7 separate regions of the Homo sapiens genome follow, and all the other regions are linked to region 1. The links are contacts of gene promoters, found by promoter capture Hi-C in blood cells and fetal thymus (Javierre and others, 2016). All regions are on one chromosome and are shown on one strand. Each heading gives the region's core, a stretch centred on a gene start or on the middle of the fragment in contact. The rest is flanking DNA. Distances are from core to core; before and after follow the strand shown. Region 1 holds the start of PLXNA2 (plexin A2). Region 2 has its middle 53 kb from the start of LINC02767. Region 3 overlaps PLXNA2 (plexin A2). Region 4 overlaps PLXNA2 (plexin A2). Region 5 has its middle 34 kb from the start of LINC02767. Region 6 overlaps PLXNA2 (plexin A2). Region 7 overlaps PLXNA2 (plexin A2).

Region 1 (2,700 bases), core at 157-2,656:
CTCCTGTGGTGCTCAAACTAAGGGGCTGGACCCCTGCTGGGCGATACACCGCAAAGGGAGCCCCGGGAGATGAAACACTTAGACCCATTCAGTGCCTAGGAATCTCTCCCTGAGCCTTATGGAACCCGCGCAAATGATGTTTTCCCATTCCCCTGATCTCCAGTCCCCGATCGGAAGGGAGAGCCGGCGGCCACCAGGGACCCCGGCACTGGAGTGAACGCCCCCAAATCGATCGCTGGCCAGTGTGGCTTTGGGCTGTCTCGCTGGTGCCACCGAGGCCCTCTTTGGGCTCCAGCTCTCAGGACAGCCTTGCCGCCCCGAGCTCCCCAAAGCCGCAGAGCGCCGGCAGGTGCGCGGTGGAGGCGCGCCGCGGAGCGCTGCTGCCGCCCTCAGCCCGCATTCGGGAAGCCGGCGGGCTGCCGGCCGGGAAGCCCTCGGCGGGAGGCAGCGGCTCCAGTGAGCCTGCGATCGCGCGCACGCCGCGCTCCAGCCCGCGAAAGTGGCCGAGCCCACGCGGGGACTCGCCCGCCGCGGCCAAGCCGGGTCTTCTGGGGCCGGGACCCCAAAGAGGCGGGCGCGGGAGAAGCCGCCACGGGTGTGCGCGCCTGTGGGGAGAGGGCGGAGGGCGCTGCCGACTCCGAGCGCCCGGCCCAGCCGCCGCTTACCCAGCTCGGCGACGTCGGTCTGTCCTTCCGTCCCCGCTCGGTCTACCTCGGCCGCCGCCGGCTGCTGAGGGCGGCGCGAGGCCCCTCTCCCTGCCCGCAGCTCGGAATCAGGGAGACGACCAAATCCACATGGAGTCCAAATTCATTAAAATCCACGTCAAGCCACCAGACACTTATCTGTATTCCTGAAGTCGCTCCTCGGTCTCCGCTCCGCGCGCCCCTCAGTCCTCCGTCGCCCCGCAGCAGCCCGGCTGGGCGCTGTCGCCGGCTCTCAGGGGGCACCCGGAGGCGCCGAGGGGGCGTGTGGGGGCGGCCGGCGGTGTCTCTCCTGAGGAAGAAGCAGAGCCCCGGCTGTCTTCAGATTTTTCCAGCGCGACTTTCCGGGCTCCTCTGACATCAGCAATCCCGGCGCTTCCTTCCCTTCTTGCTCTCCGGTTCGTTCACAGTCCCATTTCCTCCGGGAGCCTGGCTTTCCAGATCTATTTCGAGGTTTGCTCCGCTGGCTGCGGCGCTCGCACGCCCTACCGCTCCCAAGCTCTCGGGGTCTCTCTCCGGATCGCTCGCCCTCTCGGCTGAAAAATTCCCAGCAACTGCCCTCCGCCGCCCTCCCGCTCCAGTCTGGCGCGGATGCCGCTCCTCCCGGCAGCTCTGGCTCCCGCGGTGGCGGCGGCGGCGGCGGCGGCGGCGGCGGCGGAGGAGCCCTGAGCGCCGGCCTCCCTATTTCACCATGCAGCTCATTATCATAGAGGCCGCGCGCGTTAACCCCCTCCCCGCCGGCCGCGTCCGCCCGGGCTGGGGCCGCGCCCGCTGCTGGCACCGCCCGCCACCGCCAGCACCCTGCCCCCTCCCCCGCCCGCGCGGACTTCCTCCTCCGCAAGCTGTCAACAAAGGAGAAGCAGGTTTGGCATCCGGAGGCCGCTCGGCTGCCTGTCCTGCGCCCAGCTCAGCCCGGACCCATCGGCCACCTTAAGTAGCCAAGGGGGCAAGGAAAATGCTGCCAGGGCCCGGGAATTCGAGTCGGGCCTTGCGAGCCCAGCTGGCTTGGCCCCCGGGGGAATAGAAGGTCTAGCGTTGGGGTTAGGGGGGAGCTCAGAACACAGGAAGAGTGGGTGAGGGCAGTAGGGACAGGGAATCCCCCCCATTCGCATCACCTGTCACCGCACACATCCTGCACACCTCCCTCTTCATCTGTAATTTGAGTGAGGGGTGAGTGGGGAGGAACGGGGCTTGTCTGGTAGGGTTGAGACTAGAGTCTTGGAATTTGTGGGAGCAAATTTCCTCTTCTTGTAAATTAAAAAAAGAAAAAGGCCAACAAGCTGTCAAATAAGGCTTGAAGTTGTTGTTATTATTATTATTGCAATGAGAAGATGAACCTTGCTCTGAATTGAATCTCAAACTTCCAGCCCTGATAGGGATCCTGGGCATCTGGTAAGTCCCGACTTGCATGGGGGCATTGGGGACGGGAGAAGAGCTTTCTATATCCAATTCAGAGAATCTTTCTGGCAGGGTAATCAGAGGGGTGGCAATAAGATAACTTATTTTAATAACCTAAGGTGAGAGGTTTCGGGATTCTGGATGACAATGTCTCGGTGCCCTCAAGGCCACTGATTCCTCGCCACACAGTCTCAGTAACTCCGCAGCCTCTAGACACGGCTTTCCGGAAGCGGCCTGCAAGCTGGACCCCAGCGAGTTCGCAGGATCTGCGTAGTCCCTGCTCGCGATTAGAGCGCACACGAGTTTACTCCTGTCCAAGTATTCTGATAAGCTTCCTCTACTGCCCTCTCGTGGCCACAGTCCTCAGTGGTATAAATCTAAAAAACAACAAAAATCACTGCGAATACCTAAAAGCAATTGCACCAAATTCTTAGAGCAGTAGCGGCAGAAGAAACGAAGGGAGGGAAGGATGAAGAAAGGGAGCCGGAGAAAAGAGAGAGAGAGAGGAAGAAGAAAAGGAAATCTAGACTAACCAGTCATCTCGAACAATCGCACATTCAACACAGGACTGGGGGATCTAGGCTTTACTCCAACATCTGCA
Region 2 (2,700 bases), core at 44-2,543, 230 kb before region 1:
CCTCTGCTGTGGTCAGCTACGTGTGGCATGGGTACCAACCTCTACGGAGCATCTACTGTGGCCTGACTGTTTACAAACATCAAACCACTCTGTGAAACAGGCTTATTTCATCCACTGCATAGAAGAAGAAACTTGTGCATCCATGCATTCAATATTTGCTGAATCCTATATCATAAGATAGGCCTCGGAGACACAGTGGTGGACAGGACAGAACCTGCCCTTCTGGAGCCTACGTTCCTGCTCAATGCAGAGATAGTCCCAAGGTCACTGATCCACATTCATGCTTGGCCGGGCTTAGATAGGAAACCAGGCAGGTTCTACCAATGCCAAAGTCTGGGGAATTGCTTTTCCTTTTCTTGAATGCTAGGTTTTGGGGTCTTGTGGCCTCCTACAAAGCCCACACTGTGAGTCACCATCCACCTTCTTTGCTGGGCAACCTCAGAGGAGGAAAAGACGTCACTAATTTAGTTTAGGACCTGGGAGGTGGAGTGGAGTTTCCCTGAGATAAGGGAATGGGAGAGGACCTTCTGCTATTCTATGAAAGTAATTGTGGCTGATGAGGAGTTTTGGAGTACAGTATTTTTTTTATTACAATTGTCATTACACTTGTAGATATTTGGGAGGGTGATTGGGAAACAGAATAAAGTAACAAGTAAAATTCTCACATAATCCTACTCCCCTATTTAGACCACACTGTAACATGCTGTGAACAGTTTTCCAAATCATTAAAAATTCTCTGTGGACATAATTTTAAATCAGAATATAATATTTCATCTTGTGGACATACTATAATTTATTTAACTCTCCCATATTGGCAGTATTTAATTTGTTTCTACTTATTATTTTAAATAAAAGACATGTACATATATGTTTGTCCTTGTTTTTACCTGCTCAGAATGGAAGTGAAATTATTACCACAAAGAGAATGAATATTTTAAAGGCCCTTGAGACTTACTGCCATCTTGTGTTCTAGAAATATTGTACAAATTTCTAATAGTGTGAGAGGGCCCAGCATTGTAGTACACCTTCCTTCATCAATAATCCACATTGACTTTTACAAGTATTTGCTAATTTAATAGGGCAAAAATTGTATTTCATTATTGTGTTTTTTTCACATATATTGATTGCTAGTGAGCTTCAACATTTCTTTGTGTGTCTAAATAATCATTAGCATTTCTTCTGCAAATAGTCTATTCTCATCCTTTGCACATTTTTCTTTTGGGTTTAGTGGGGCTTTTTATGTGTATAAGTGCTATTTTGTATTTTAAGAACATTAACTTTTTGATGTTTTTGTTGAAGACATTTTTTCTCAGGTTGATTTTGCTGTTTACTTTATTTTCTATGATGTTTTTTATAGATATGGTTTGAATTTATATGCAGCCAAATATATCTATTCTTTCTTTGTGATTCCTCCAATTGCTTTTATACTTAGAAATTCCATCTCCACACTGAGATAAACATACTAATATTTTATTCTAAGTATTTTATGATTTTTTTTTGAGGTCGGGGGACAGAGTCTTGCTCTGCCGCCCAGGCTAGAGTACAGTGGGGCAGTCCCGTCTCACTGCAGCCTTGACCCCCTGAGCTCCAGTGATCTTCCCACCTCAGCCTCTGGAGTAGCTGGGACTACAGGCCCACACCACCACTCCTGGTTAAGAAGGTTTAGAATTGTTTTTTCTTTTATTTTTGTAGAGGTGATATCTCCCTATGTTGCCCAGGCTGGTCTCAAATTCCTGGGCTCAAGTGATTCTCCTCCCTAGGCCTCCCAAAGTGCTGGGATTACAGGTGTGAGCAACCCCACTGCCCAGTCAGGTTTGATTTTTTCACATTTAATTTTTTAGTTTATTTGGGATTTATTTTGTTCTGTGTTGCATCATGGTAAGGATTTAGACTGATATTTCCCCAAATAGTTAAACATTTATCCCTGAATCACTTATTAAGGAATGCTTTTGGCTGGGCGTGGTGGCTTACGCCTGTAATCCCAATACTTTGGGAGGCCAAGGTGGGTGCAAGGCTTGAGCTCAGGAAATTGAGACCAGCCTGGGCAACATGGTGAAACCCCATCTCTACAAAAAATACAGACATTAGCTGGGCGTGGTGGTGTGCATCCTGTAGTTCTAGCTACGTGGGAGGCTGAGGAGGGAGGATCCCTTGAGCTTGAGAGGCAGAGGTTGCAGTGAGCTGAGATCGTGCCACTGCACTCCAGCCTGGGTGACAGAGTGAGACCCTGTTTAAGAAAAAAAAAAACAAGGCTTCCTTTCCCCATTGGCTTAGATGCTGCCTTTGGCTTACGCTAAATTTTTAAACATATATATACAGTAGACTGTTCTGAGCTGTCTTATTCTGTTCAGTTGGTTCTTCTATTACAATCACACTGTTTTAATTACTGTATCTTTATTCATTCACACATTTAAAAATACAACATATTTGTGTATGAAATATAGCATTTTAATATCTGGCAGAAAAATCTCCCATAGTTACTCTGTTTTTTAGGAGGAAAAAAGACTACTTCTGTTCATGTATTTTCCAGATAAATTTTAGAGTCATGCTGTCTAGAAAAAAAAAATCTCATTTGGGATTTTGTAAAGGATTAAATTAAATATATATCTTAATTCATGAAGCATTTGCATCTTTATACTATTCAGTCCTACCGTTCGGGAAAATGACATGCTACTTTCTTTTCCCCCTTATGTTGTTTTT
Region 3 (2,700 bases), core at 12-2,511, 210 kb before region 1:
CTTGTGGATGTCAAACACGAACTGGGGGTTCTTAATCACGTTCACCCAGAAGCGCAGAGGGAGGCTGTGGGGAAAGGCAGAGAAGACTTGAGAATGCATGCGGGCCGTGCCCCTTCTGCTGCCCACTGATATTCTTCCCCATCAAAGGTCAAATTGTCCACCTGAAGGGGCAAAGGAGTAAAATGGAAGAAAATGGGTCCAGCCAGGGTTAATTTAGCCAAAGCTGTTACTGACCTGGGAGAAATGGAAGGAGAGGCACTTTGTACCCTAATGGGGGCACTGACCCTGATCTCTAACATCCGAGGGGTGGGCCTGGGTGTGTTCTGTTCCCTTCTGGGAGACTTTTCTAAAGGACTCTGTGCCCCTAGGCAAGCCCAAGAACAGAGGACAGCACATTTTCTCAGGGCTTCACACAAAGCCACCAGGCTCCTGGAGTCCCTTCACAGTGCCCGTGGCCATTGTCCGGAAGAAGGCAGCCAGGAGCCCCAGGCTCAGCCTCGGAGCAGGCACAAAGGGCGCCACCTGCGCTCCCCGCCCAGCCCGGCTGCCCAAGCTACTTCCCAGGGCTGGCCTGGCCTGGCTGGGCCGAGGAATGGGCTCCCCTGGGGGAAGTTCTTTCATGACTCTCCCCAGGGCGTTCTTGTATCTGGGCAGGGGCAGAGGGAGAAGTGGAGGCCATTGTTGGCATCCTGGGAATGACTCACTGTAGCTCAGAGATTTTCCCACCCCAAGAGGAACCGATCAGTAGTTAGGAGACTTCCTTCTGCAACTCGGGAATTTATAACCAGAGGAGAATGAGTTTTCTCTGCTCCTTAGACCATAAAGCAAATAAGCCCATTTACTCTCCTTCAAAATCAGAACAGCTGCTGCTTTTACTTCCTTTTCCAGCTTTGCCTTCTCTTCCAGCTGCCTTCTGGGCTTTAACTCTTTTGACTCCTCTGTGGAACCGGTCCTGTCACAGGCTTGTCCTCCAGCCTGAGATGATGTTCCCAGCTCCCCAGCTTCTTCTTCTCTCCCCTCCTTCATCTTCTCTTGACTCTCATGGGCCCCAAACTTTCCCAAATGTCTCAGTAGTGCCAGGTCTTGGGGAAGATCTGCTTTACCCAGCCTCAAGCCCTTCCACGATGATTTCTGCCTATCTTCCAAAACACAACAGGATCCCTCACTTTCCTCTAGCCTGGGAGAAGCTGCTGCAGCTGAGAGCTGACTCATCTCTTCTACCCTCCCCTTCTTCTGGCAGCCTTGGGTAGTTTCTGGTAATCTTTCCCTGGACATTTGCTATTGAGGTCTGGTTAAGGAAACTCTCTCCACACCACGATGCCAGGGTAGTCCATTTCTATTACTTGGATCTGGCCAGCACACAGAAGGCACAGAGATGCGGATAACCCTGGACTTTCTCTTGATTTCCCCTGAAGTGCCCTCTCCCAGCGCTGGGCCGGGGATGCTCCAAAGCAAAGGGGACAGGCATGTGCTGTCCAGGGAATGCAGATGGAAGGCCTGTCCTGGCAAAGTGGACTGTGGGCTCTTAACCCCAGGGCCACCCCAGCCTGTTCGTTTCACTCCACTGTGATCAAAGCTGCAGACTGAGGAAGGCTCAGCGACCACAAGACCCGGGAGGAGGAAGGAAGAGATGGGGCTGGGGTTGGCTTTTTCCAAAGTGTTTTGTTGGTTGCTAGGACTTTTGATTCCCAAATAACAGCCTGGGCCCATCTGTGTCGGCTCTGTTTTCTGAGGAGACCGCTAACTCCAGACAGCTGCGTGGGCTGCCTGCCCAACCCAAATGCCTGGACCTCCCCTCTCCCCTCTCTGTGCTCTTTCCCAAAGGAAGCCTTTTGATGCCAGCTCTTGGCCGGGTCCTGTCTGACCTGAAAGCCAGTCCTTAGCTTGGTCTGTGGTCCAGGTTCAAAACCCATGAGGATAAAGTCTCATACCAGGGGCCTGAGGGCTTCTCCCACTGCTGGTCTGGTTGCAGAGATGACTTTAGGGGAGAGAGTCATGCCTGCAGGGCATTCTGCCTGCTGCTTCCTGAAAGCTATGGCGCCAGGATAATCACTTGGCCTTAAGAGATCAAGTTTGCAATGAAATCCTCCCTGTCAGTGGGCTCAAGTCTATAGCAGGTGTGAACTCCCTCTCCGGTGCTGACCAACTTCACCGGGCGTCTCAGTTTAATTCAGGGATTCCCCATCTCAGGAAGTGCCTTAGAACTGCCCCACTCAGAATGCCCCACGATGTCTGGCTGTGAAGCTCTGCTGCAGGCTTCAAATGCAGCTCTTTGCATAGGTTCCCCCAGCTCCCTTCTCCTGAGAACCAGAGATCTCAGAGCCAGGGGAGGAGGCTCTTCTTGGGGTACTGGTCACAACCTGGAGGGGCAGAATTCAAGGGTGCATCCTATTGCTGTGCCTCAAGCCAGGCAGGCCCCACTTGGCACAGGCAGCTGGGGACCGTGTGGGCTCTGCAGAGCATATGTGCACTGTTTGTTCCAGGAGCTTTGGATCACCCAGCCCCAGCCGAGAATAGGCTATCCTCCCACCCTCCCATCTCCTGGTCCTCATCCCTCTTAGCTCCAGGCCTCTCCAGGCTGCACCTCCTGCTGAGCTCCCCGAGGGTTTACCAGTTGCTTTTCCAGGTGTGCCGCACATCTGTGTCATGGATGCTGTGCCTGTCTGCCTGCTCATCTAGGAAATCAAACATGTACTTGAT
Region 4 (2,700 bases), core at 100-2,599, 130 kb before region 1:
CTAAACTGTTGTATGACTCTGAGTAGGTAAGAAGCCACAGGAACCTCATGCTGTAAAACAGAATTTTGGTTTTCAGCAAACACCATGGAATGCATCTTCTCCACTATCTCGCAGCTTTCCTTTCTAACCATCCAAAACTTGGGCATCTTGTCCTCTCTGACACATCAGACCCCCCGATAGTATTCTCTCTGACTTTTCTTGGTATGCTGAGTGACTGGTTCCCTTGGGCAGAACTATAGAGAATTGTCTTGTCCATCACAGCTTCCTAGAAGGCAGTGAGTGAGTAGATGAGTGTGTGTGTATGTGTGTGAAAGAGAGAGAGAGCGAGAGAGGGAAGGAAGGATAGAGGGAGCGGGAGGGAGATGGAGGATAAGAATATGTATTAAATCTCTGCCTAAGGGGAAACAAGAGTCTCCTATACTTACATTGGAACATTTTAATTTCCTTTTGGTATAGAGCTCATTTATTCATTCCTGCCATTCATTCATTCAACTCTGGCAAGGTGGTGATATGAGGCAGGAAAGCTCCTAGGCTTTGCTGGATCCAGTGCCTCTGTGTTGGTTTGGGAACCTTTATAGACTGGTCAGTTGGATCAAGACCATTCCATGGAGGCAGCAATGACCACATGGCCTCAGTGCTTTGTACCCAGGGGTTAGTCAGTGTGGGTTGATTGGCGTGACCTTGTGAATCTGCATTCTGATATATTTGATTTATCACCAAGTCAACCTGAATGTGGTAGAAATACACCGGGCACATATACTTTGTGCATTTGCTTGTTTATTCATTCATTTACTCAATCATTAGTCTATCCGCTGAGTTCATCCATTCATCCATCCATTCATCCACCAGACTGCTATATATATAAGTTGTATAAAAGTTATCTGCAGCTGAAGAAGAAACTGAGGAACAGAGAGTCTCAGTGAAGTTGTTTAAAGTCATGTATTCAGTAAGTTATACAGCTGGGACTCGCACTCAGGCAGGCTGGCTACAGAGCCCATGTTCTCAACTTTTACACCATACCGCCTCTTAGACATGAAGGATGGCATGGGTTAGAAAATGCTAAGCCCTGTACCTTGCTGATAGCTGATAGTTATTATTAATAAATATGTATTAAACACCTACAATACAGTCTGTGTAGACATTAAGTTCACAGAATGCACAGATACAACCTTGATCCCAAAGTACTCATAGTGTTGTCAGGAAGACAGACACACCTCCCAAACTATAATGAAATATTAGCAATATGATTGAGACATGGTAAAAGCTATAGGAGCAAAAGGGAAGTACAAATCAGGGAAGGCTTTCAAGAGTCAGTGTTTTGTACCAATAATACAAAACACAGTTTCTTTCAGCTAAAGAAACACAACAATAAAAATAAAATATAAAACAACAAGAAAACTCTGCCTATCTCAGGAAGTTTATAGTCCAAACACCTCAGTGTGACATTTCAGACTTCTAAATTCTGCTCCTCACCCAGGCTGACGTTTCCACTCCTGACCCCTTTGGTCAATGTCAACTGCACTCCTGCCAGGCTGGCCTCCTCTCTTGCTTTGTGTAGTCCTGCCTCCATGCCTTTGCTCATACATTCCTGCTAATCCAAACATCCTCCCCTCTCCCGCTCATGTGCAAATCCCTGGGCCCTCCCTCCTCCAGGAAGTCTTCCTTGATCAACCTTTGTTACTTCTCTCTCTGAACTGAGAATCTGACTGCCTGCCCAATTGGCATGAGTCTAATGCACTTTTTATACTCTTCTTAGGTAGGTAACTTTTTAGATTACTTATAGGGCTCTTCTTTTTATTTCTTCTTATGAGACATCTCTGTATGCTCCCACTTCAGTTTCTTGTACGAAATAGGTCTATAAATACCTGCTGAGAAGCTAATTATACTTGCCCAATGATCCAGGTTTTATTTTAAGCTCTTTAATCAAATGCACTATGCTAAAGTTCTCTAGGTGTGGCTGAGGCCCCCTGGTATTCTGCGAGTATCCATTCGGTGACTTGAGGGCTTTTAAAATTTTTTAATAGTCAATGTTTACAACACAGCAGAGGCTTTTGGTGTCACGGAAAGGACATAGCTGTTAGGGTCAGAAGAACGTAGCTCAGCCTCACCACATACTCAACTGTACCGGGCAAGTCCCTTAACCTCCCTGGGCCTCAGTTTTCACATTTGTTAAATATTATTGGATGTTAAAATTAAGGCATCCACGAAGGCACCATGATACAATAATGCTGTGTTCTAAGGTAAAGTGCAGACTGCCATACAATTTTTCAGAGTAGATTCTCAAGATTCAGGTTCATGATTCTTCTGCCCCTGACCCTGGATCCCCTGACCCAGATGAATGGAATGAAAGGATTAAAGGGGCCAGGCAAGGTGCTTATGCCTGTAATCCCAGAACTTTGGGAGGCCAAGCTGGGCAGGATCATTTGAGTTCAGGAGTTTGAGACCAGCCTGGCCAACATGGTGAAACCCCGTGTCTACAAAAATACAAAAATTAGCCGGGTGTGGTGGTGCATGCCTGTGGTCCCAGCTACTCAGGAGGCTGAGGCAGGAGAATAGCTTGAACCTGGGAGGTGGAGGTTGCAGTGAGCCGGGATCACACCACTGCACTCCAGCCTGGATGACAGAGCAAGACTCTGTCTCACATAAAAAAAAGAGTTGAAGGAATGAAAAAGAAGAGACTGTGTGAATTATTGGAGGGAG
Region 5 (2,700 bases), core at 54-2,553, 250 kb before region 1:
ATGGGGAGGTGGGAGCGCATGTGGGAGGGGTGATGAGAAGGGACTACAGCTTTTTTTCTTAATCGCCTCTCGACTGTCTGTTAATTAGGAGCCGTGCTTTGCTACATGCTGTGATATTTTGGTTAATTATAAAGAGAAAAGGACAAATTTGTCACGTCTTTTGTTTTCGTTCCACCACGTCTCCTGGTGACAGCGGTGTGAAGGCTGATGGACTGCTCAGGCAGCAGCACCAGATGCTCACACACACCCTCTGCCAGGGGCAGGCAGGGAGGGGTCCTCAGGGCTAGGAGGCAGCCAGGGGGCCACCAGGCAGGCTGGTGCACATGGGGCTGGTCTGGACTGGGTTCACAAGGGGTCAAATGGAGAGATTCACATTCTTGAATGTGAACGTGAAGTGGATGCCAGGAAGGAGTCCCCAGTCCCACTGAAGGAGAGGAAGGGGGAGATGTTCATTCCTCCGTTGTCCAGTTGGGTGATTGGCCTGACACCAATGCCCCAGGGATCAAGGCTGAACTTGCCGATAGCAATCAGAGCAGACAGGCAGGCTGTGACCCCTCCTAGGATCTTGAGGCAGTGGGGGGCATGTTCACCTTGCAGAGTGGGGCTGAGTAAAATATAGCATAGTATTCTATGAGCCTGTCACAAACGGGCCACCCAGGGATGTGAAAGGATGTGCTAGTTCTCCCTGCTACCATTTATTAGCTAAAGCCTATTTCAGGCTCCAGCTTATACATTATACCCCATCCCCCAACACACACACACACACGTACTGGGTTAGGAGTCACCTTCTCTGGGCTCTGAGGCTTACTAAGCTTCTATCATGTGATGGTTAATTGTATGTGTTAACTTGGCTAGGCTACGATACCCAGTTGTTTAGTCAAATACAAGTCTAGATACTGTTCTGAAGATTATTTTTATTTTTACTTTTATTTTTTGAGGCAGAGTTTTGCTCTATTGCCTAGGCTGGAGTGCAATGGTGTGATCTCGGCTCATGGCAACCTCCGCCTCCCGGGTTGAAGCAATTCTCCTGCCTTAGCCTCCCAAGTAGCTGGGATTACAGGTGCATGCCACCATACCCAGCTAATTTTTGTATATTTAGTAGAGATGGGGTTTCATCACATTGGCCAGGCTGGTCTCGAACTCCTGACCTCAAGCGATCCACCTGCCTCAGCCTCTGAAAGTTTTGGGATTATAGGCGTGAGCCACCACACCCGGCCTGTGAAGATTATTTTTAGATTGACAACCAATACACTGAATAAAGCAGATTACCCTCCATAATGTGGGTGGGCCTCATCCACTGAAGGTCTTAAGAGCAAAGACTGAGGTTTCCTGAAGAAGGAATTCTGGATCAATACTGAAACATAGAAATCGTACCTGAGTTTCTGACTGCTGGCCTGACCTACAGATTTGAGACTTGTCAGCCCTGACAATTGCATGGACCAGTTCCTTAAGATCTATCTATCTGTATTTGTTCTGTTTTTCTGATGAACCCCGATGGATACATATCCCATTGCATCTGGTTGTGGACTTTCCTGCTTTCCTGACCATCTCCTTCACTAGAATGTGAGGACAGAAACTAAACTGGGTCCTGTGTACCACGGCATCCCCTGGGCCTCGTGTAGGCCCTGCTTGTAATAGACCTTAATATGTATTTGTTGCACATTGAATGAATTCATTTGGGAAACAAGAAAGACGTACATCCCCGCACCAATCAAATAACCATCCAAGGCAGTACAGGCAGTTCCTGACTTATAAATAGGTTTAGTTCCAAAAATTCATTTGAGTTAGTTGTCTGAAGCTTTTTCCCATAACAACAAGGATATCAGTGCTGGCAAGCCTCCTGGGCTGGCTGCCAGAAACCTATTTAACCCATAGTATAGATTAAACACTGTGCATTTGCCATGAAAAATAGTAGAAAACAATATTCTTGCAAGGCTAGTAATTAGAAGAGAAGTATGATAGTATTGAATAAAAATAGGTAAAATTTTTCATTTAGAATATTGGAGTTTTGAAGAAAAATGGTTACAAAAGGATGAGCAAGTAGAGAGAGACTAATGGAAAATCGGAATGGAATTTCTGAGTATTTTCCAGGGTTTTAGAAGTCGATGGGACTGATTCTCTATTTGATCTAAGTTCTGCTCAGAACTCATGGCTGCTCCTCCCGCTCCCCTTTTGCTATAGAAGGAGGCCAGCTCTTATTGGTCTCAGGTAAGGGTGTTAGTTTGTTCACACATGTAACAAAAATAATAAAGAAATGGTGGGCTGTTTGGACAGGAGAGAGAGGGGGGAGAAAACCAGCACGGACAAGGATGTATATTTATGTGGGAATGAGATTGTCCAGGGTGAAATTAACTGAGCCATGAGGGGTGATTGCTGAGAAGGAGTGTGGGACAGAGGTCTGGAAGCCCAGGCTCTGAAGGGAGCTTAGGGAATGTGGAGGAGACGCTGAGTTAGACAGATTTCCACATTGGTCACCAGGAGGCACTGTTGCTCTGTTTTAGCCCAGGGCTGGGGGTGAGCAACATTTGAGGGGTTGGTGGGGCAAGCAGCATGCAGGGTGTGTGGTGGATGTTTCCAAGGTGGGGGTTAATCCTGCAAAAATACTCTCTGGTTATTGAGATCCTAATAAGTAGTGTGGACAACAAATGCCCAGAGAGCCATCGGAGGGAGTGCGGACTGTGAGAGAGCCACTGAGGTGAG
Region 6 (2,700 bases), core at 158-2,657, 190 kb before region 1:
CTTTTATTTTCTGTATGCTGATGCTTTGACATCTGGGGCCTTGCTGACTGGGGAGGGAATGTCCCTCCCAGGGCAAAATCCTAGAGATAGCAAATAACTTGCCTGTGAGCGTGCCTTTCATATGCACGAACCAATCCAGACCCCACAGCTCAACTGCCCCTTTCCACACTATCCTCATGCCCTCATCATTCTGGGACCAGGCACCAAACATCTAGGGACAGCCCTGGGCCCCAGAGCCTGCTAAAATGACTCAAACTAGCTGATCCTAAACTTGCTTACCCTGCTATGCCTGTTCCTTCCTGCAGAAACCACATAAAGACTCTTGCCACGGTTTCTCCCTCCGCCTCCAGGCAGACCAACCCTGGTGCTTCCCCCTGTGACCCCTGGGGCATGGACTTCCCTCTTCTCTTGGGATTTGATCTATGAGTAGAACAAGTTATACTCTGGCCTTGCCATACCTGAATAACAATAAAACCTATATTTTAAAACATGTACCTAATTTGCTTGCTTTTTTTTTTTTTTTAAATCCTTCCTGGGTGTGAACTTACCATTCTTGTTCCCATACCTCACCCTAGACTCTGGAGTTACCTGGGAGTTTCTGGGGACCCTGAGCTTCAGTCTGGAAATGGAGTGGGGGCCTAGGCTCTTTTACCCATGGATCAAGTTCTACACCTGGCAGAAGGAGGCATGCGCTCACCTAGCCCAAAAAGGAGTGACCATGGTGGATACTGAAGGTGTGGTACAAGTGCTCCCCAACATCTCCAGCAGGATGGTAATGTCAAGCCCACCAGCATTTCATGTGGCCTAGTTACGAAGAGTCTGGATGTTTGGGATCCACCTTGGCCCTTCCACCAGTCACCTGTATGATTGGGGGCAAGTCATTTAACCTTTCTGGACTTAGTTTCCTCTGCTACACAATGAAGGGGTTGCATCAGATGATCCCTGAGACCTTTCTATATCTAACCTTCTAACACTCTGTCATTTTGTGTATCTCTGTGTTTCTTATGGAAGCCTCAAGTACCCTGGAAATGTGTCAGGGGTAAGAGGGGAGACATAACACCATCTTCTCCATCTCCATCTTAGTCTAGTCAAGCCCCTGAAGGTCAAAGCAGTAATGATAGTAATTTCTATGAAAAATAATGGCCATAGTAGCATCTGCTATAATATAATTACAAATACAATCATGTTTCAAAAAATATTGGCTGAAAGAGTGAGATGGAGCCTAGAAAAATGATAAAAAATTGACAACATATCAGACATTCTATCCCTACGATACAGACAACTTTTTAAAAATTATAAAAATTACATGGCTATGCATGGAAGACTAATATAAAATGTCCAAACTTATCATCTTAGCAACCTAGGTGGAGTTATCTGATGCAGTGACTAGCATTTATCAACTGCCAACCTTATGCCAGCCACGGGCTGGCAGGTTATGAAGCTGAGGCAGGTCTGCTTGTCACCATTCATAGCTGAGAGGTGGAGGATCCGGAGGTTAAATGACTTGACCATGCTTGTACAGCTAATAGATGGCAGAACCCTGCTTCCTCTCCAGACATGTCTGAATCTGGAGCCAGAATTTCTCCAACCACTTCCAATATGGGTTTTCACTGGACCTCAAAGTCAACCTGTCATAAAACAGGAGTCCTTTTGTGCTGTATCATAAACTCAGAAGCCAGTACTTTGATACACTCACTATATCACCTTCTGACAAGAAATTGTACTGTCATTATAATATAAAAATCATTGTAGGGCTGAATATGGTGGCCCATGCCTATAATCCCAGCACTTTGGGAGGCCAAGGCGGGAGGATCACTTGAGCCCAGGAGTTTGAGACCAGCCTGGGCAAAAGAGAGAGACCTCATCTCTAAAATAATAATAATAATAAACTAGCCAAGCATGCGCCTGTGGTCCTAGCTACTCAGGAGGTTGAGGCGGGAGGATCTCTTGAGCCCGGGAGGTCAAGGCTGCAGTGAGCTGTGGTTGCACCACTGCACTCCAGCCTAGGTGACAGGGTGAGGCCATGTCTTAAAAAAAAAAAAATTATAAGGTTTAGGTATTTGGACCATGATTCCAGGCTCAGAGTCTTAAGCCAGTTTTCCTCTCCAGTATTCAGAGGCTCCAGTGCCTAACCCAGAGCTCATCCCATTGCAAAACATCAACACAGAGCTGTGTTTACCAAAGGCTGGGGCAGACCAACAGTTACTCACATTGACAGATTCTTTGCCATTGAATTTGACTCGGATCCTTGGCTCCTGAATGACATCCAGGTTGAAGCCTGTGATGGTCAGGGGTGTGTGGCCACTGAAAACAGGCAGAGGCTCGGTTAGGTAAAAAACCCCCTCAAATCTGGCATGGTGAACCTCCACCTTAGGGATCCCTCTCATGAGCCAGACTTGGGCTGCAGGGATCATGCTGGGTGGCTTCCAGGTGCATCCCTCCCACCTTCCACCTCACCTGGCAATGCTCCACTCTGGCTCGATGCGCTGGACCCGAGGGTCATCTATGTACTCAAACTGCAGGTTGCTATCCACATGGGCTCGGTCGACACTCACAGAAACAGGGACCGGGCCAAGGCCATTGGATGATGGGGGTGAGACACACACGATCTCACTCATTGACCTCCTGACAGGGAGACAGCAGGAGGGTTGAGAAGAAAGGCATGGGCAACAAGAGGTGCCCACTGGCTTGACAAGGGGC
Region 7 (2,700 bases), core at 12-2,511, 170 kb before region 1:
TTAAGTGAAGATAATAATAGCCAACTTGCAGGGTTGTTTGAAGGAGTAGGCTCAGAGCCTGGCACATGGGAGAGTCTTATTAAAGAGAAGCAATTATCATGAAGACTCCCAGAATTAGAATGTTGGCTGGTCTGCTCATGTCCCTTGCCTGAGGTCCTGAGGTTAGTGTCCTCATTAACAGAAGACCTGTATCCCTGCTTCAGTCCTTCTACACAGGACACAACTGCAGAGGGTGGAGATTAGAAGTCTGCCCTAGGCCTTTTGGAGGAAGCACAATGGCCTGCAGGGCAGTCAGTTTCCAGCCTCTTCCAGGTGGCCAATGTTCAAGCATAGGCTGGGGCTACATTGGAAGAGGCTGCATAACCTAGCCTCCTTAACCAGGAGTCACATATACATGTGACAGACAACTTCCAAGCCCAGCATAGTTCATGGCATACAGTAGTCATTAATTAAATATTCATTTAATGAGTGAATTAACATATTTGGAATGGTGGCATCTCCCCCCTCTGATCAGAATGCTCACTCTTATGGTTTGACTCTTGTCTCCTCAAAATTCATATGGTGAAGACCTAATTCAGTGCCTTAGAATGGCACCTTCTTTGGATATAGGGTCTTTAAAGAGGTAATCGTATTAAAATGAGATAATTAGAGTGGGCACTAATCCAATATGACAGGGTCTTTATTTAAAAAAAAAAAATAGGGAGACAGACACACACACAGAGATAGAATGCCATGTGGACATGAAGGCAGAGGTCAGGTTGATGCTTCTACAAGCCAAGGAACAGCAAAGATTCCCAGCAACCACCAGAAGCCAGGAAAGAGACCTGGAACAGATTCCCCCTCACAGCGCTCAGAAGGAACCCACGCTGCTGACACCTTGATCTTGAAGTTCAGACCTCCAAATATATTCAGGTTGTTTAAGCCACCTGTTTGTGGTTCTTTGCTAGGGCAGCCCTAGGAAACTGATACACTCGCTTGGAGTGAAGAAGACCTCTGTTATGTGAGCTCCAAAATCCCTTTACCCTCCCTGAGTTTATCTTCCTGAGAAAATATTCAGTCTCTTCCTTTTCTGCTGGATCCTGCCTACTCATGGCCCCTTAAGAAATGTTTTTCTCTGGGCCTTCCTTTCCAGTCTGTGGCTCCTAACACCCTCCTCTTTGAGGTCCCAGCAGGTCCTGAAGCATAGGCTGGGGGAACGGAAACGTGGCGGGCCAGCCATCTCATGGGCTTTCCAATCCTCTGCACGTCTCCTGTTCCTAGGGTTGAACAGGTGACACGTGCACAGACACCCACGATGACAGCTGGAAATGGGAGCAGCTCAGGAGGCCTCCCATGGGGGACAGCATCATTATCACACCACGAGCTGGCTGAGGAGCAGAAGGTAAGTCCTGAGGGGGTCCTAACCTGAAGTTTATGCAAACTGTGAAATTCAATAGCCTGTACAACTTGTTCTACATGAAGCTGCCATAAAAGATGGGTCCCTCGGGTGGGCCTGGTTGCCATGGAGAAGATGGGGTAAGGAGGGGTTAAGGAATAACACAGCTGTTTATCTAACTATGCGTGAGCCCACTTCTTTTTCTAACGTAGAACTCCTTTGAGATCATCTCATTTATTTCTCTGCTGTCCCAGGAAGGACAGCATCCATTCCAGCTTCCACTTATTTCCAGGACTGGAGATTCTGCCACCCCCAACTGCCATCACAGGCCATCTTAGAATCCTTCTCTTTTCATCCTTCAAGAAGGATCTTTGTAGTAAATGGCTTCTATTTACTGCACAGAGTGGCTGCACTAAGGAGGACACCCATTCTGAAGATGAAGGCTGGGGACAAGGAGGTCTGCATCAAAGGGTATGGGCCTCATGGAAGTCCGATGATTCAGAGGTTTGGGGAAAACATCTATGCCAGTGCAAAGGGATTAGCCAAGAAAGCTGAAGTAAAGAAAATGAGTTGGCCGGGCATGGTGGCTCATGCCTATAAATCCAGCACTTTGGGAAGTTGAGGTGGGCGGATCACCTGAGGTCAGGAGTTTGAGACAAGCCTGGCCAACATAGTGAAACCCTGTCTCCAGCAAAAATACAAAAATTAGCTGGGCGTGGTGGCACGTGCCTGTAGTACCAGCTACTCGGAAGGCTGAGGCAGGAGAATCCCTTGAACCCGGAGGCGGGGGTTGTAGTGAGCCAAGATCACACCACTGCACTTCAGCCTGGGCGATAGAGTGAGACTCTGTCTCAAAAAAAAAAAAATAATAAGAAAAGAAAATCTCCTTAAAGGTTGCTTTTAGCAAATTACATATTCTTGCCAAAAACACCATAGAAATGAGGTTGTGTCCTTCTCAGAGCATTCTATTGAAAGGTACATGAGGTTGATTTTTCCCATTACTGGCTTTGTTTACTTTCATCAATTGGTTTAGGTGAGGTCTACCACGTTTCTTCACTGCCCAGTCACTATTGTTCTTGTCATAATTAACAAGTATCTTATGGGAAGGTAGCTTAAGGTTATGTAAATATCCTATTTCTCATCATACTTTCATCTACTAATTTTAGTGTTCATTGACCATTCTTTGCCTGAAACAATTATTACTTGTGTACTGTGCCAAATGGTGATTTCTATTTCCGTAATTACTTCTACATTTTTTAGTTGGAATCTAGTGTAAAGAAGAGCTTTTCTCTCTATTTATTTATTTAGAGATAGGGTCTTGGCCA

Evidence for each region. Contacts are between HindIII fragments. The CHiCAGO score rates a contact against its expected background, and 5 or more counts as called.
Region 2: a contact is called between a fragment that was not itself captured here and the fragment with the promoter of PLXNA2 in region 1, in 15 of 17 cell types (fetal thymus, naive CD8 T cells, M1 macrophages and 12 more). The highest score is 13.7, in fetal thymus.
Region 3: a contact is called between a fragment that was not itself captured here and the fragment with the promoter of PLXNA2 in region 1, in 16 of 17 cell types (fetal thymus, naive CD4 T cells, naive CD8 T cells and 13 more). The highest score is 21.8, in fetal thymus.
Region 4: a contact is called between a fragment that was not itself captured here and the fragment with the promoter of PLXNA2 in region 1, in 3 of 17 cell types (erythroblasts, M0 macrophages and M2 macrophages). The highest score is 6.5, in erythroblasts.
Region 5: a fragment that was not itself captured here is called in contact with the fragment with the promoter of PLXNA2 in region 1 in 13 of 17 cell types (fetal thymus, total B cells, naive B cells and 10 more); the score reaches 16.8 in fetal thymus.
Region 6: a fragment that was not itself captured here is called in contact with the fragment with the promoter of PLXNA2 in region 1 in 9 of 17 cell types (fetal thymus, megakaryocytes, M2 macrophages and 6 more); the score reaches 12.2 in fetal thymus.
Region 7: a contact is called between a fragment that was not itself captured here and the fragment with the promoter of PLXNA2 in region 1, in 1 of 17 cell types (fetal thymus). The highest score is 6.2, in fetal thymus.

The regions. Positions count from the first base shown.
Region 1 is chr1:208,242,978-208,245,677 of GRCh38, forward strand. It overlaps PLXNA2 (plexin A2), which reads right to left and starts at 1,407. Exons shown (of 32, transcript NM_025179.4): 1 at 666-1,407. RefSeq lists enhancers at 1-446, 447-946 and a silencer at 1,465-1,524. The HindIII fragment of the contact is 7,265 bases long and covers 1-2,428 here.
Region 2 is chr1:208,010,422-208,013,121 of GRCh38, forward strand. No RefSeq gene overlaps it. Among named protein-coding and RNA genes, the nearest start is that of LINC02767, 53 kb to the left of the region's middle. The HindIII fragment of the contact is 3,525 bases long and covers 1-2,700 here.
Region 3 is chr1:208,028,979-208,031,678 of GRCh38, forward strand. It overlaps PLXNA2 (plexin A2), which reads right to left. Exons shown (of 32, transcript NM_025179.4): 29 at 2,612-2,700; 30 at 1-64. Among named protein-coding and RNA genes, the nearest start is that of LINC02767, 71 kb to the left of the region's middle. The HindIII fragment of the contact is 5,248 bases long and covers 1-2,700 here.
Region 4 is chr1:208,114,531-208,117,230 of GRCh38, forward strand. The region is part of intron 4 of PLXNA2 (plexin A2); the gene reads right to left. Among named protein-coding and RNA genes, the nearest start is that of PLXNA2, 130 kb to the right of the region's middle. The HindIII fragment of the contact is 8,996 bases long and covers 1-2,700 here.
Region 5 is chr1:207,991,203-207,993,902 of GRCh38, forward strand. No RefSeq gene overlaps it. Among named protein-coding and RNA genes, the nearest start is that of LINC02767, 34 kb to the left of the region's middle. The HindIII fragment of the contact is 986 bases long and covers 811-1,796 here.
Region 6 is chr1:208,048,799-208,051,498 of GRCh38, forward strand. PLXNA2 (plexin A2) reads right to left here. Exons shown (of 32, transcript NM_025179.4): 16 at 2,458-2,625; 17 at 2,211-2,304. Among named protein-coding and RNA genes, the nearest start is that of LINC02767, 91 kb to the left of the region's middle. The HindIII fragment of the contact is 5,744 bases long and covers 1-2,700 here.
Region 7 is chr1:208,073,082-208,075,781 of GRCh38, forward strand. All of the region lies in intron 12 of PLXNA2 (plexin A2), which reads right to left. Among named protein-coding and RNA genes, the nearest start is that of LINC02767, 120 kb to the left of the region's middle. The HindIII fragment of the contact is 6,171 bases long and covers 1-2,700 here.